Regions from separate parts of the Homo sapiens genome. Here all the other regions are linked to region 5. Evidence: promoter capture Hi-C in 16 types of primary human blood cells and fetal thymus (Javierre and others, 2016). All regions are on one chromosome and are shown on one strand. The core of a region is centred on a gene start or on the middle of the fragment in contact, and the rest is flanking DNA. Distances in the headings are between cores, read along the strand shown.

Region 1 (2,700 bases), core at 177-2,676, 140 kb after region 5:
CCTTTAAGTACTTTAAAAAGATCTTTATTTTAGACTCTTCTCTCTCCATGCTGATGTCATTAGTATTCTGGATGAAATGTTTCCTTGCACGTAACTATGTTGGACTTGGATTCATTACTAAAGCAAATAATTCGGTTTTCCTAGGAACAAATGCTACTTTTCCTCATGGGCTGTTTGCTGACCATCCCTCTTGGTTGAGCATACGCTGCATTACTTGGAAGCCACATGTTAGGACTAAGGGAGACATAGAGAAGTAAAGAACACAGCATCTGTCCTCAAAGAAACGGTCGTCTTCACTGGGAGGGAAGATTGAAATGTGGCATTACAGCTGGGCGTGGTGGTTCACACTTGTAATCCCAGCATTTTGGGAGGCCGAGGCAGGAGGATCACGTGAGCCCAGGAGTTTGAGGCTGCGGTGAGCATGATCATGCCACTACATGCCAGCCTGGGTGACAGAGCAAGACACAGTTTCTTGGAAACAAACAAACAAACAAACATGGCAGTACGAGGGCTCAGAAGGGAAGATGCTAATATATTCACTCAGAGTTCAGAAAAGGCAGATGGTTTGCTTTGGGCAAAAGTTGTCAGGAGAGGTTTTCAGACCAAAGCAAGGACATCTTGAGGGGAGAGTCAAAAGGAAAGAATTAATCCTATTTTCAGCTCTCTATCCCTGAATACTCTTAGTTCCTTCAAGCAGCAGTGGGCTAACAAGTGATGCTACAGGACCGTATGCCAATGCAAGCGAGGACCCTGTGACCTTCAACAGACCTCTGCGTCACCATGGAGCTTTGAGATGAGTGTCAGAAGGAAGAACAAGCTCATTTTGAAAAGTACACAGACGTTGGAAACTGTGAGTATTACCCAAAAAAAAGCTTGAAAGGCTCCCATCCCCATCGGGTGACCAGCAGAACTTGCCACTGCAAGAGCCTCGTTCTCATTAATAAGAGTTCATTTTATTATTTCCATGCTATGTAATTTCTCCCACTGCCTTTTAGACTGGAACATTCAACTTTTTGCACTTCATATTAATTACCCTGGGGGATTCAGGCTACAGTGCACAATAAGAAGACCCAATTAGAACATTGCCTACTGTCTTTTTGTTTCTTTGTAATCCAAAATCAATCAATAACATCCTTAAATCCTCACAAGAAATGACTAGAGTTATTAACGTCTTGGACAAAGAAGCCAAGAAATTCAAAGCAGATGGAGCAGAATCACACAAATCACACAACCATGCAAATTAGTAGCAGCCCGTGGGCTTGACAGGGTCAGAATGCTGGGGGTTGGGAATTTTTAATATGAAACAGAAAATATACCCCATAACACTAATGTTCTTTTTGTGATGAGACGTGATGATTCTGGTTTAATGTGGAGCAGGGTGTCTTCAGGAGCTCTGAGAAAACACAGGCTTCCCAGTGCTCATCTACATAGCACATCCCTGTCTGGGACAGTTTACTGTTCACCCTACATGAAGTGTTCTCTCACCTGTCAGAAACACACTTCCTCTACAAATTGCATCCCCTACTGTTAACATCAAGATCAGAAGTAGGCCAGGTGCTTTGGCTCATGCCTATATTCCCAGCGCTTTGGGAGGCCGAGGAGGGTGGATCACCTGAGGCCAGGAGTTCAAGACCAGCTTGACCAACATGGTGAAACCCCATCTCTACTAAAAATACAAAATTTAGCTGGGTGTGGTGGTGAGCACCTGTAATCCCAGCTACTGGGGAGGCTGAGGCAGGAGAATTGTTTGAACCCGGGAGGTGGAGGTTGCAGTGAGCCGATATCATGCCACTGCACTTCAGACTAGGTGACAGAGCGAGACTCCATCTCAAAAAAAAAAAAAAAAAGATCAGAAGTAAACTATGAGAGTGAGTAAGATGAACATATGAACATTTACATTGAAAAATGTGAAAAAAACTTAAGATGTAATGGTGTTTGGAAAAGAATTGTTAACTGTATCCACTAAACCATAAAGCTTAACAAAATCCCAAACTTGGGAAATGAATTTTAAAAATGGACTCACCATGTGTAACTCTGGTCAGAGCCTAAACAAAGGAGGAGACAAAGCTTATGATGTCAGCCCATCTCATTCAGCACTGGGGACTTTGTGCTAGTTCAAAGTGTTGAGGAATTGGATCTCTACCTAATCATAAGAGACTGACCTCTTCCTCACTCCAACAGCGGTGCTGCTCCCGGGGGAATGATGGTTACCTCAGTTTCTCTTGGCCTCTCAGATGTGCAGCATGTCGGGTCTCCGCTAGTACCCACACATGATACCTCATGCTGCAAACCTACCCACTGAATACGGCCAAGTGAATAAAGCACCACCAACAACACGACCTCTAGTTCCACTGCTGGGCTCTGGGTACCATTGTCAATTCCTTGATCGATTTCCAAAGCTAAACAATAATATTTACGTAAACCTTAATAGATTACAAGACATTGAAATATCAGTCATCTGGGCTGGGCATGGTGACTCATGCCTGTAATCCCAGCACTTTGGGAGGCCGAGGCAGGTAGATTACTTGAGCTCAGGAGTTCAAGACCAGCCAGAGCAACATGGCGAAACCATGTCTCTACAAAAAAATACAAAAATTATCTGGCTGTCATGGCATTTGCCTCTAGTCCTAGCTACTCAGGAGGCTGAGGTGGGAGGATCGCTTGAGCCCTGGAGGCGGAGGTTGCAGTAACCAGAGATTG
Region 2 (2,700 bases), core at 86-2,585, 160 kb after region 5:
CACGCCCGGCTAATTTTTGTATTTTCAGTAGAAACGGGGTTTTGCTATGTGGGCCAGGATGGTCTCCAACTCCTGACCTCAAGCGATCTGCCCGCCTTGGCCTCCCACACTGCTGGGATTACAGGTATGAGCCACCATGCCAGGCCCTGTGGTCATAATTTAAATAGTCACAGTCTTTTAAAGATACAAACTGAAATACAGACTAAATGATACATCTAAGACTTTTTTTTTTTTTTTTTGAAACAAGGTCTCACTCTGTCTCCAGGCGGGAGTGCAGTGGCGGCTCACTGCAGCCTCGACTTCCAAGGCTCAAGGGATCCTCCCACCTCAACCTCCCAAGTAGCTGTGACTACAGGCATGCACCACCATGCGCCTGGGTAACTTATTTTTTGTAGAGATGGGGTCTTACTGTATTGCCCAGGCTGGCCGCAAGACCAACTCCTGGGCTCAAGCAATCTTCCTGCCTTGGCCTCCCGGAGTTTTGTGATTACAGGCATAAGCCACCATGCCTCACTCTAAAATTTAATTCAAAATTATATGGGGAGGGTGGGGAAGTGGGTGGTATTGATGAAACAGGATCAAGGATGAATTGCTTGACGCATTTGTTTTGTTATACTATTCTTACTACCTTAGGATAAGTTAGAAAATTTCCATTAAATTTTTTTAATCAGTAGTTTATTATATTTATAATCACTGTAGGATGGCTGGTGAATTCTACAGAGCAAGCTTCCCCGTGACAGTGCTGGGCTTGGTGCAGCTCCCTCTTGGAGGGGAGGGGAAGCTACAGGCAGCCCAGAGCTGGGTTATTCCTCTAGCCCTGCCAGGAGAGAATGAGAGGAGAGCTGGCCCCTAGTGTCCTAATTACCATCTTCCTCAAAGAAGCTCTCGGTTAGAAAGAGACGTGCATCTCAGGCTCCAGGAACCAAATGAAGGAGAAAGAAGTGTTTCTCAACTTTTTACAGGGAAAGATACAAACTCGGGAAAGGCAGACTGGAAAGAATATGGAATTTGGAGTCAGAAGGTTAGAGTCACTCCTTGCCCCACAACAGGGACAAGTGAACTTCTCAGGACAAGTGAACGCCTCAGCGTCCCCATCTATAAAAATGGGAATATAACTATCATCCATATCAAATAACTGCCACGAGGATGAGATGAGATCTCATACTGGACGGTGAGAGGCAGCTTGGTGCCGTGGGTCAGACTTGTGTCTGTTGGTGGCTCCGTTGTACCATCCACACAGTCAACTACTAAATAAATGAAAACTATTATAATTAATTATTTAAGAAAAAGCAATTTGTCCAAGGCCTCATGGTGCGTCGGCAGGGTTGGCAGGGTACTACGCAGGAGGAGAATTTGCACTCGCTATCCTCGCAGTGATCCCTCCGAGCTTCCAAGTGGCTGTACATGGGCAGATGATTCACGACTGGTGCTTTTTTGACAAGGCAGGGAGAACAGACAGGAGATGGGCCCATCTTGTTCTGACAGCTGGGCCACCCTGGGTGGCAGTGATGAGTCAGCCTTGCTGCTGCCACACTCAGCACACAAGGCTTCCCAAACCCAGGCAGAGCATCGTGGATCGCAGACACGCTGACCATGCAGTTGTGTGATGGCAACAGATGACTTGTCTCTTTGTGTCCCTTCCCCAAAAGTACTCAGTAACCTAACAGGCTTCTACCAGCCTCCAAATAGAAGCATCTTTTTTTCAAACCCTGAAGGGATCAAGCAAGCCAGAGGGGTAAGCATGTGGGTTTGCATGCATGTGCCTGTGTGTGTGTGTGTGTGTGCATGTGTGTACAGAAGAATGCATATGAACCTGTGCCTATTACCCCTGCAGACAGCATGCTATCCCAGTGTCATGGTGGAAGAACAAGGAACAGGACATTCAAACAGTGGATGACCAGGTCCCTACTTCCCAGGACTCGGCTTTCTTTGGAGGGAAGCTTATCCATGTTCCCCGAGGACCTACTACACACGTGATTTCAGAGTGGACTGTTCAGTGTGGCTTGTCTGGGACTTATATTCTCAATCTCATCATTGCCTTTCTGTGTCCAAAACCAAAGCATCAGAGGTACAAGAAGGCAAAACTCCATTTCCTCTGTGAGCACTGTTCCTGTTTGACTGAGGAATCTGGCTAGAACAAGAAGAAATAGGGCCAGAGTTGGGGCTATGTATGTAGAAATTTTGGGTGGATTTAAAGAAATCAACGTCTTGGATTTTGTCACAAGAAAAATCACTTAGACACCCTACAGTTATGGATAAGAAACCAAATGGAATGCTTGATTCATTCTATTATGCTTTTAAGTAACTATTACAATGAATGATTCATTAATTACTATGAAAGAGCAAGGTTTCAACAAAAACAAATACGAATAAATTAAATAATTTCTAGCGAAACTTCATTTGTTATGGAATAGCACCTAATCTAACTTTTATTTTGCTAAATAAAAAAGAGTTTTGGTATCTTATTTCAGGTATTGAAATGCCTCGGGTCTTGCTCTGGACAAACACATTGCCCTGGGACCGGCTGCTCACAGCATTTTGGCTTTGACACGGCAGCTCTGACATTAAAAAGCCCTTAACTAACCATTTGCAACATATCAGAAAAAAGGTTAATTTGCCTTTTACGCATCCTTTACTCTGCTCTGTTGTAGAGGAGAAAAGACAGGACTCTGGTTCTCCTTTCAAATCAGTTATGCATAG
Region 3 (2,700 bases), core at 52-2,551, 190 kb before region 5:
GATGGGGATGGTGGGGCTGCATCTTTGAGCAGGTGAAGAAAGCATGATGGGGTTTTTTTGTTTGAAATGAGAATGCCCTATTATGCTGAAAATAAGTTCAGAAAATTAGCCCTGCATCCATATGCCTAAAGGTAATCAGAGTTGACCCCATTTAAATACCAGTGGGCCTCAGGAAATGGAAAAATGGGCAGTGAATAAAATTTGTCCAGTAATAAAATTTGCCCAGTTTCCCTTGGTTTTGTGTCGAGCTGTGCTTAATGTTAGGAAGAAGTTGAGGAGCCTCTGTAAGAGTTGTCTATGAAGTGACATTTGTGTCCTTTCAGCTGATATTACAGGAAGTAACAGGCAGGTGGAAACACAGAAAGAAAGACACAGAGACATTTATTCTAGGTCGTGTGTATTTCTGAAACTGTAAACTCAAATTCACTTGATTATGGAAATGGCGTTAGTTCTAGCTAAAAAAATTGTGGGCAAAATTAGTGCCAGATGGCTGGGTGTGGTGGCTCACGCCGGTAATCCCAGCACTTTGGGAGGCTGAGGCAGGTGGATAACCTGAGGTCAGGAGTTCAAGACCAGCCTGGCCAACATGGCAAAACCCTATCTCTACTAAAAATATGAAAATTAGCTGGGCATGATGGCAGGTGCTTGTAATTCCAGCTACTTGAGAGGCTGAGGCAGGAGAATCACTTGAACCTGGGAGGTGGAAGTTGCAGTGAGCTGAGATCTCGCCATTGCACTCCAGCCCGGGCAACAGAGGGAGACTCCGTCTCAAAAAAAAAAAAAAAAATTAGTGCCAGAAAACAAAAGACAAGTACACATGGGAGGGAAGAAGTAAATTCTAGAAAGTATAGACCAGTATTCTTGAAATTGATCATGGCAAAACTCCAGAATACATTACAAAAACAATGTTTTGTAAGTCTTTGAAAGAGGTTTGTCATTCATTTAGCATGAAGTATAATTTCCATTTTGTCTGTGATCAAACTGGCTCATCAGGGACGTGCTGTAGAAACAAGGTGATTGAAGAGAATAAATGATAGGTCATTTATGAAAGCTCTTGACACACAGCAGAGGCACAGTAATTACCAGTTGCTCTCCTTCAGGCATTCATAATAGTCATCAGAGGATGGGCGTGGTGGCTCACACCTGTAATCCCAGCACTTTGGGAGGCTGAGGCGGGTGGATCACCTGAGGTCAGGAGTTTGAGACCAGCCTGGCCAACATGGTGAAACCCCCGTCTCTACTAAAAATACAAAAATAAGCCAGGTGTGGTGGTGGGTGCCTGTAGTCCCAGCTACTCAGGAGGCTGAGGCAGGGGAATCGCTTGAACCCAGGTGGCAGGCTTCAAAACAAGCATATGAAAAGATGTTTAATATCATTGGCCATAAGGGAATTGCAACCCAAAACAACAATGAAGTACCATTACACACCAATCAAGATGGCTACAGTAAAAAAGACTACTAATAATAAGTGTTAGCAAAGATATTAAACATTTGAACTCCTCATACACTGTTGGTAGGAATGTAAAATAGTGCAGTCGCTTTGCGATTCCTCAAAAAGTTAAACATAGCGTTACCATATGACCTAGAAATTCCACTCCCAGGTATGTACCAAGAGAAATGAAAACACACATCCACACAAAAATGCATACATGAATGTTCATAGCAGTGTTCTTCATAATAGCCAAAAAGTATCAACGCTCCAAATGTCCAACTATTGAATGGATAAATAAAATGTGGCATATCCATATAACGGTATATTAGTCAGCCATAAAGTAATGAAGTACTGATACATGTTGCAACATAGAAGAACCTTGAAAACATTATGCCAAGTGAAAGAAGCCAGTCACAAAAGACCATATTGTATGATTCTATTTCTATGAAATGTCTATAGGCAAATCTATAGAAATAGAAAGCAGACAGGTGGTTGCCTAGGGCTTGGGGGAGGGAGTTTGGGGAGAAATATGGAGTGACTACTAATGGATATGGGATTTTGCCTGGTTGACAGAAATGTTCTAAAATCTATTTTGGCAATGGATGCTCAGCTGTGGATATACTAAACGCTATTCAACTGTACATTTTAAAGGGGTGAATTGTATGGTACGTGCCTAACATCTCAATAAAGCTGTTGAAAAATTCTCTTCTCATAGTGCTCATATCTTAGTGGAAAGCAAAAGGATTCAACCTTCTAAGGATCTTTCCAATCTGTCCACTTCTCTTTGTCCAGCACGTTACCATCTCCTCTTTGGATCACCACAAAAGCCTCCCGCCTCTTCTGGCTCCAGTGTGGCCTGCTGTGAATCTCCTCTATAAATCTCCACTTTGCTGCCTTAGAAATCTTTCTGAAGGGCCATTGAGATGCTCCTCCTGCCTCCATCTCACCACGGCTTCCACAGCCTTAAAGGTGAAGTCCAGGCTCTTTCACTCCACTGAAAAGGCCCTGTATGATCTGGTCCCTACTAATCTCTGACTTCATTTCTCACCACTCATCACTTGGGCCACGAACTCTTTCAGTTTTGCAAATCTCTTTGCCCTGTCTCAATTCCAGGCTTTTGCAAAGCCTGATTGTTCTGCCTTTTGGGTCTCAGCTCACATGCCACTTGTTCTGGAAGCTTTTTTCTTAAATACTCCCCGTCTTCACACAGTAGAGCCCTGCCCCCGCAACAGGTGTGTGCCCATTCATTTCCTAGACTTACTGCGTGCC
Region 4 (2,700 bases), core at 71-2,570, 200 kb after region 5:
CTTCTCTTTCGAACCAAAGACACACCATATACCCTACTCCACCCTGGACCGGGGGCCTCTGTGCTCAGCACACTATAGATAGGGCTGAGTATAAAAACCACACACAGGGCTGGGCACGGTGGCTCACACCTGTAATCCCAGCACTTTGGGAAGCCAAGGTGAGTGGATCACTTGAGGTTGGGAGTTCGAGACCAGCCTGGCCAACATGGTGAAACCCTGTCTCTACTAAAAATACAAAAATTAGCCGGGTGTGGTGGTGCGTGCCTGTAATCCCAGCTACTAGGGAGGCTGAGGCAGGAGAATCGCTTGAACCTGGGAGGTGGAGGTTGCAGTGAGCTGAGATCGCGCCGCTGCACTCCAGCCTGGGCAACAGAGGGAGACTCTGTCTCAAAAAACAAAAAACAATACAACAACAACAACAACAACAACAACAAACCACACACAGGGCCCAAACCAAGGCTGGCTCCGTGGGACCAGAGATACTCTCAGTCAGCCTGAACCAAGCCCTAAACTGGAAGGCACCAGGAGCGGTAGGAACAGTAGCCGGCACCGCGTGTGGGGTGGGGCAAAGGGCCTGGAGCTCGCCTTACCCTGCATCCAGGAAGTTGCTGGCCTGACTTCCAGCCACCACCAGCTGTGTGAGTTGTCACTAAAAGGCAATTGTAACTGCCTCCTCTTTTTGGTTCAGATTACAAATGGTAACTAACCAACCCCCAAAAAGAAAAAAAATGTTCCGGTTTGGAAATCTGAGACCATCTGTTTCTCATTCTATTTCCCCTCTCTTTTCTGGATTTTTTATATTTGATCCTCTCCCTCTCTCACTCGCTCCCACTCCTGAAAACACACAGTTCAGCCAGGAGCATAGTGACCTTATTTGACTATCTTTTCTTTAATGAGAATGCTGGATTTGTTATTGGGATTAAATTTGAAAATTCCTTGTTTCCATTCAAAATAGATGCCTTGGATTGTTTACTTAAAAATGTTTTTTCATAAAAATTGTTTCTGTATTTAATCTAGATAATAAATAAATCTAAATGAAATAAAATAAAAATAAACAAAGTCACATATGATGAAGCCACATGTAGTTTTGTTGAAATCCATGCAAAATTCCATCTTAAAGTCTTTTTTTTTTTTTTTGAGACAAAGTCTCACTCTGTCACCCAGGCTGGAGTTCAGTGGCACGATCTCGGCTCACTGCAACCTCCACCTCCCAGGTTCAAACGATTCTCCTGCCTCAGCCTCCTGAGTAGCTGGGATTACAGGTGCCCACCACCATGCCAGGCTAATTATTTAATTTTTAGTAGAGATGGGGTTTCTCCATGTTGGCCAGGCTGGTCTCGAACCGCTGGCCTCAAGTGATCTGCCCCCCTCAGCCTCCCAAAGTGCTGGGATTACAGGCAAGGGCCACCTCGCCCAGCCTCTTAATGTCTTATTAACAGACTCATTTAAATTTAATGAAATGGCTGGATGTGGTGTCTCGCGCCTGTAATCCCAGCACTTTGGGTGGCTGAGGTGGGAGAATCACTTGAGGCTAGTAGTTCCAGGTTAGCTTGGGGAATATAGCAAGACCCCGATTCTACAGACAACTTAAAAAATTAGCCAGGCTTGGTGACACACCTGTAGTCCCAGCTACTCAGGAGGCTGAGGTGGGAGGATTGCACGAGTCCAGGATGTTGAGGTTGCAGTGAGCTGTGATCACGTCCCTGTATTCCAGCCTGGGTGATACAGCAAGTCCCTGTCTCTAAAAAAAATAAAAATAAAAATAAATTTTTAAAATTAATCAGAGGATCAGTTACGGATTAAAATGCAATATTGAACTCTCTGTATTGGAAGCAGCAACAGTGTTGCGAGGACTGCTTCTCTCCTGGGATTCAGGCATGGGCCGGCTGGCTTTAGAAACTCTCTATTTCCCTATAGTCTGGTGTTACAGGTCCCTCTTGTGTTGGTTGTTAACATTGTCTTGCTTCTGTTCTAGAACCATGAGAACCTGATTCTGTAATTGAGTTAATCAGCATATTGCAATCAATATTCTCCTCATCACCATCATCATCACCATCAATAGCTAGGTGTACATACAGAAGACAATGGGAAATCAGTGTAGGGTCGTTTAAAACCACGTGCTTTGTAGCCAGATGGATCTGAGTTCGAACTGTTATTTCTCAGCGATATTACCTGGGGCAAGTTAATTACACTTTTGTGTATTAGTTTCTGCATTGATTAAGTAGAGGTGATAATAATACTCATTTTCAAGAGAAAATAGGATAATGTATATAAAGTGTCCGATGTAGAGTCTTAAAAAATGTACTTCCTTTCCTATTCACTTCTTTTTCTAAGGAAGACAGAATTCTTTTTTATTTTTATTTATTTTATTTTATTTTAGAGATGGAGTCTTGCTCCATCGCCCAGGCTGGAGTGTAGTGACAAGATCTCAGCTCATTGCAACCTCTACCTCCCATGTTCAAGCGATTCTCCTGCCTCAGCCTCTCGAGTAGCTGGGACTACAGGCACCTGACACCATGCCTGACTAATTTTTGTATTTTTAGTAGAGACGAGGTTTTGCCATGTTGGCCAGGCTGGTCTCAAATTCCTGACCTCAGGTGATCTGCTCGCCTCGGCATCCCAAAGTGCTGGGATTACAGGCGTGAGCCACTGCGTCTGGCCCAGAAATTCTTGAAAAGTGAGTAAAGATGTAATCCAGGC
Region 5 (2,700 bases), core at 20-2,519:
TGAAACAGAACTACAGTTTCAATATTTGGTAACAAACACACAAAAAGCAAAATTTTTGAGTGGATTTGTGAGGGATGTCCTTTGCATGAATCTGATACAATTGTAAGCAGAGACTGAGGGACAACAGGAGCCACTTCCTACACCCCTGCCCCCACTTTTGGGTAGAAAATAATTTGACCTGCTCCAAAAAGGTAACTGCTTCTATCCTTAATTTTCATAATGCTACATTAGGATTAAGCACTAAAATCCAAATTTGAAAATTATAGTAAAATGTAAAGTATAACTTACTCTTTAAAAATAAACACGAAGTTTTCATTGGTCTCATTATTACCTCTGAGCTAAATAAGTGTTGCACAGCGCTTTATCATTTTCAAAGTGCTTTCACATTTGAAATTTGATCCTTCTAACAATCCAGGGAGTTTGGTGGATCAAAAGTTTTTATCATTTTCATTTTAAGATGCAGAAACTGAGTTTCAAAGAGATTAAATCGTTTGGCTAAGATTTATACAGCAAGGAAATTTTAAAATTCAACGTGGAGGCCGGGCGCGGTGGCTTACGCCTGTAATCCCAGCACTTTGGGAGGCTGAGGTGGGCAGATCACGAGGTCAGGAGATTGAGACCATCCTGGCTAACACGGTGAAACCCCGTCTCTACTAAAAATATAAAAAAATTAGCCGGGCGTGGTGGTGGCGGGCACCTGTAGTCCCAGCTACTTGGGAGGCTGAGGCAGGAGAAAGGCGTGAACCCGGGAGGCGGAGCTTGCAGTGAGCCGAGGTCGTGCCGCTGCACTCCAGCCTGGGCGACAGAGCGAGACTGTGTCTCATAAATAAATAAATAAATAAAATAAAATAAAATTCAATACGGATGCTCTTTCAACTGGTATGCCCTTAAAAGACAGAGCCTAATAAGCTTGTTTCATCTTGCCGTAACATAGGACCCACAGAGACACACACTATAATGATCCTTTCTATACTCCTTAGCCATTGAACGAGAGATCAAATAAACGCAGTAACATCCCTCAGATGCATGATTTGAGCATGGCTTGGAAAGTATTAGCAGTTACCTGGGTTGTCTTCTACAGCAGCTCCTCTGTAAATGCAGTTGACTGACTGATAGGTAGATGTGGCAAAACATTAAGTCAGCTGAGCAACAACAAAAATAACTCTAAGTCCTTACCTTGCAAGGGGAACCATGCCAGCAAGCTGAGAACTCTCCACCACATACTGTGCTGTGCTGCTGTGGCACCTTTGTCAACTTCCTCTAGATTCTGAGACAAATGGAGCTGAGTAGTTTCTTTTAAAGGGGGAGAGGCAGTAGATCTGTGACCTCATGTGTATCAACTCCTCCATCTGTCTGGAAGCCCCCTCTTAGTTAGCTGCCCCCAGAACACCTCCTGGTGGAACATTTTGGGGACCACATGTATTATCTTGATGGCAGAGAGGTGTGAGTGATGTGTTGGTGACAAAAATTGTTTTACCACAAGTGGGTAGTACTGGTAAATCAACTAGTTGCAAGGTTTTTAGAGGGAGCATGGGTGGGAGAAATACTGTAAAATGTCCCTGTGTAGTGACGTCATCCTTATTTTTACTTTTCTAGTTTATTAGATAAATACAATTAGATAATTTTTGCTCAACCTTTGGGAATATTTTATTTCTATGCTGACATCAATTTATAATTGTTGTCGGGGAGGAATTCATTCATTCATATAGATATACTCATTTTTGAAATCTATATATCTGTCCACCCACCCATCCACCCATCTTTTCATCCACCCACTCACAAATACAAATCTATTCATCCACCTATCCATCCATCCATCCTTCCATCCATCCACCCACACATCCATCCACCCATCCATTTATCCTTCCATCCACCCACTCACTCATGTATTACCTGCCCACTCATTCCCCATCCACCCATCCATCCATCTATTCATCCACACATCCATCCATCTCTCCATCCATCCAGCCAGCCAGCCATCCATCTATTTATCCATCCATCTATCCATCTATCCATCCATCCATCCATCCATCCATCCATCCATCCATCCATCCATCCATCCATTTATCCACCCATCCATCCATTCACCCATCCATCTATCCATCCATCCATCCGTCCATGACCTATTCATTCACCCACCCATCTATCTATACATGCAAATACTCATCCATCCACCCAACCACCCATCTATCTATCCACCCACGCATTCATCCATTCACCCACTCATTCATCCATTTACCCACCCATCTATCTATACATATGTCCGTCCGTCCATCCATCCATCCATCCATCCATCCATCCATCCTTCTATCCACCCATTCATCTTGTCACCTGTACAGCATCTAGTATGCACTACTTTGAGACATGCTCAAATAAAAAACATAAATTCCTTGTTTTTCAGGAGAATATAATCTAGTGGGGGAGACAATGTACATATGAACAGTTCTGGTATTTAATTTTCATTAATTGGACAAATTGAGATAGATTTAATGTAGTTTTTCCAGGAGCACACAGTAAAATATTAGTAAGTTTATGTTTAGAAAACAGAGATCAGTCTGCAATGCTTGGAAAATGAAAAGGAAACACTACTTACTGGCTCTAATTGAAATTAGTGTTAATACTCTGATAAATTTGATGAAGTTTGGGTAGGAAAAGTCTTACTCATCAAAAATGTCTTCCAAATATTTTGTTGGCTGGGCA

Evidence for each region. Contacts are between HindIII fragments. The CHiCAGO score rates a contact against its expected background, and 5 or more counts as called.
Region 1: a contact is called between a fragment that was not itself captured here and the fragment with the promoter of CRTAM in region 5, in 1 of 17 cell types (naive CD8 T cells). The highest score is 5.9, in naive CD8 T cells.
Region 2: a contact is called between a fragment that was not itself captured here and the fragment with the promoter of CRTAM in region 5, in 2 of 17 cell types (naive CD8 T cells and total CD8 T cells). The highest score is 9.5, in naive CD8 T cells.
Region 3: a fragment that was not itself captured here is called in contact with the fragment with the promoter of CRTAM in region 5 in 2 of 17 cell types (total CD8 T cells and naive CD8 T cells); the score reaches 6.8 in total CD8 T cells.
Region 4: a contact is called between a fragment that was not itself captured here and the fragment with the promoter of CRTAM in region 5, in 12 of 17 cell types (megakaryocytes, naive CD8 T cells, naive B cells and 9 more). The highest score is 10.4, in megakaryocytes.

What each region holds. Positions count from the first base shown.
Region 1 is chr11:122,699,645-122,702,344 of GRCh38, reverse strand. All of the region lies in intron 1 of UBASH3B (ubiquitin associated and SH3 domain containing B), which reads right to left. Among named protein-coding and RNA genes, the nearest start is that of UBASH3B, 45 kb to the right of the region's middle. The HindIII fragment of the contact is 1,103 bases long and covers 875-1,977 here.
Region 2 is chr11:122,680,779-122,683,478 of GRCh38, reverse strand. The region is part of intron 1 of UBASH3B (ubiquitin associated and SH3 domain containing B); the gene reads right to left. Among named protein-coding and RNA genes, the nearest start is that of UBASH3B, 26 kb to the right of the region's middle. The HindIII fragment of the contact is 1,214 bases long and covers 729-1,942 here.
Region 3 is chr11:123,027,492-123,030,191 of GRCh38, reverse strand. No RefSeq gene overlaps it. Among named protein-coding and RNA genes, the nearest start is that of SNORD14E, 29 kb to the left of the region's middle. The HindIII fragment of the contact is 2,618 bases long and covers 1-2,610 here.
Region 4 is chr11:122,632,639-122,635,338 of GRCh38, reverse strand. No RefSeq gene overlaps it. Among named protein-coding and RNA genes, the nearest start is that of UBASH3B, 22 kb to the left of the region's middle. The HindIII fragment of the contact is 2,858 bases long and covers 1-2,700 here.
Region 5 is chr11:122,837,069-122,839,768 of GRCh38, reverse strand. CRTAM (cytotoxic and regulatory T cell molecule) reads right to left here and starts at 1,269. Exons shown (of 10, transcript NM_019604.4): 1 at 1,177-1,269. The coding sequence starts at 1,222. The HindIII fragment of the contact is 4,925 bases long and covers 912-2,700 here.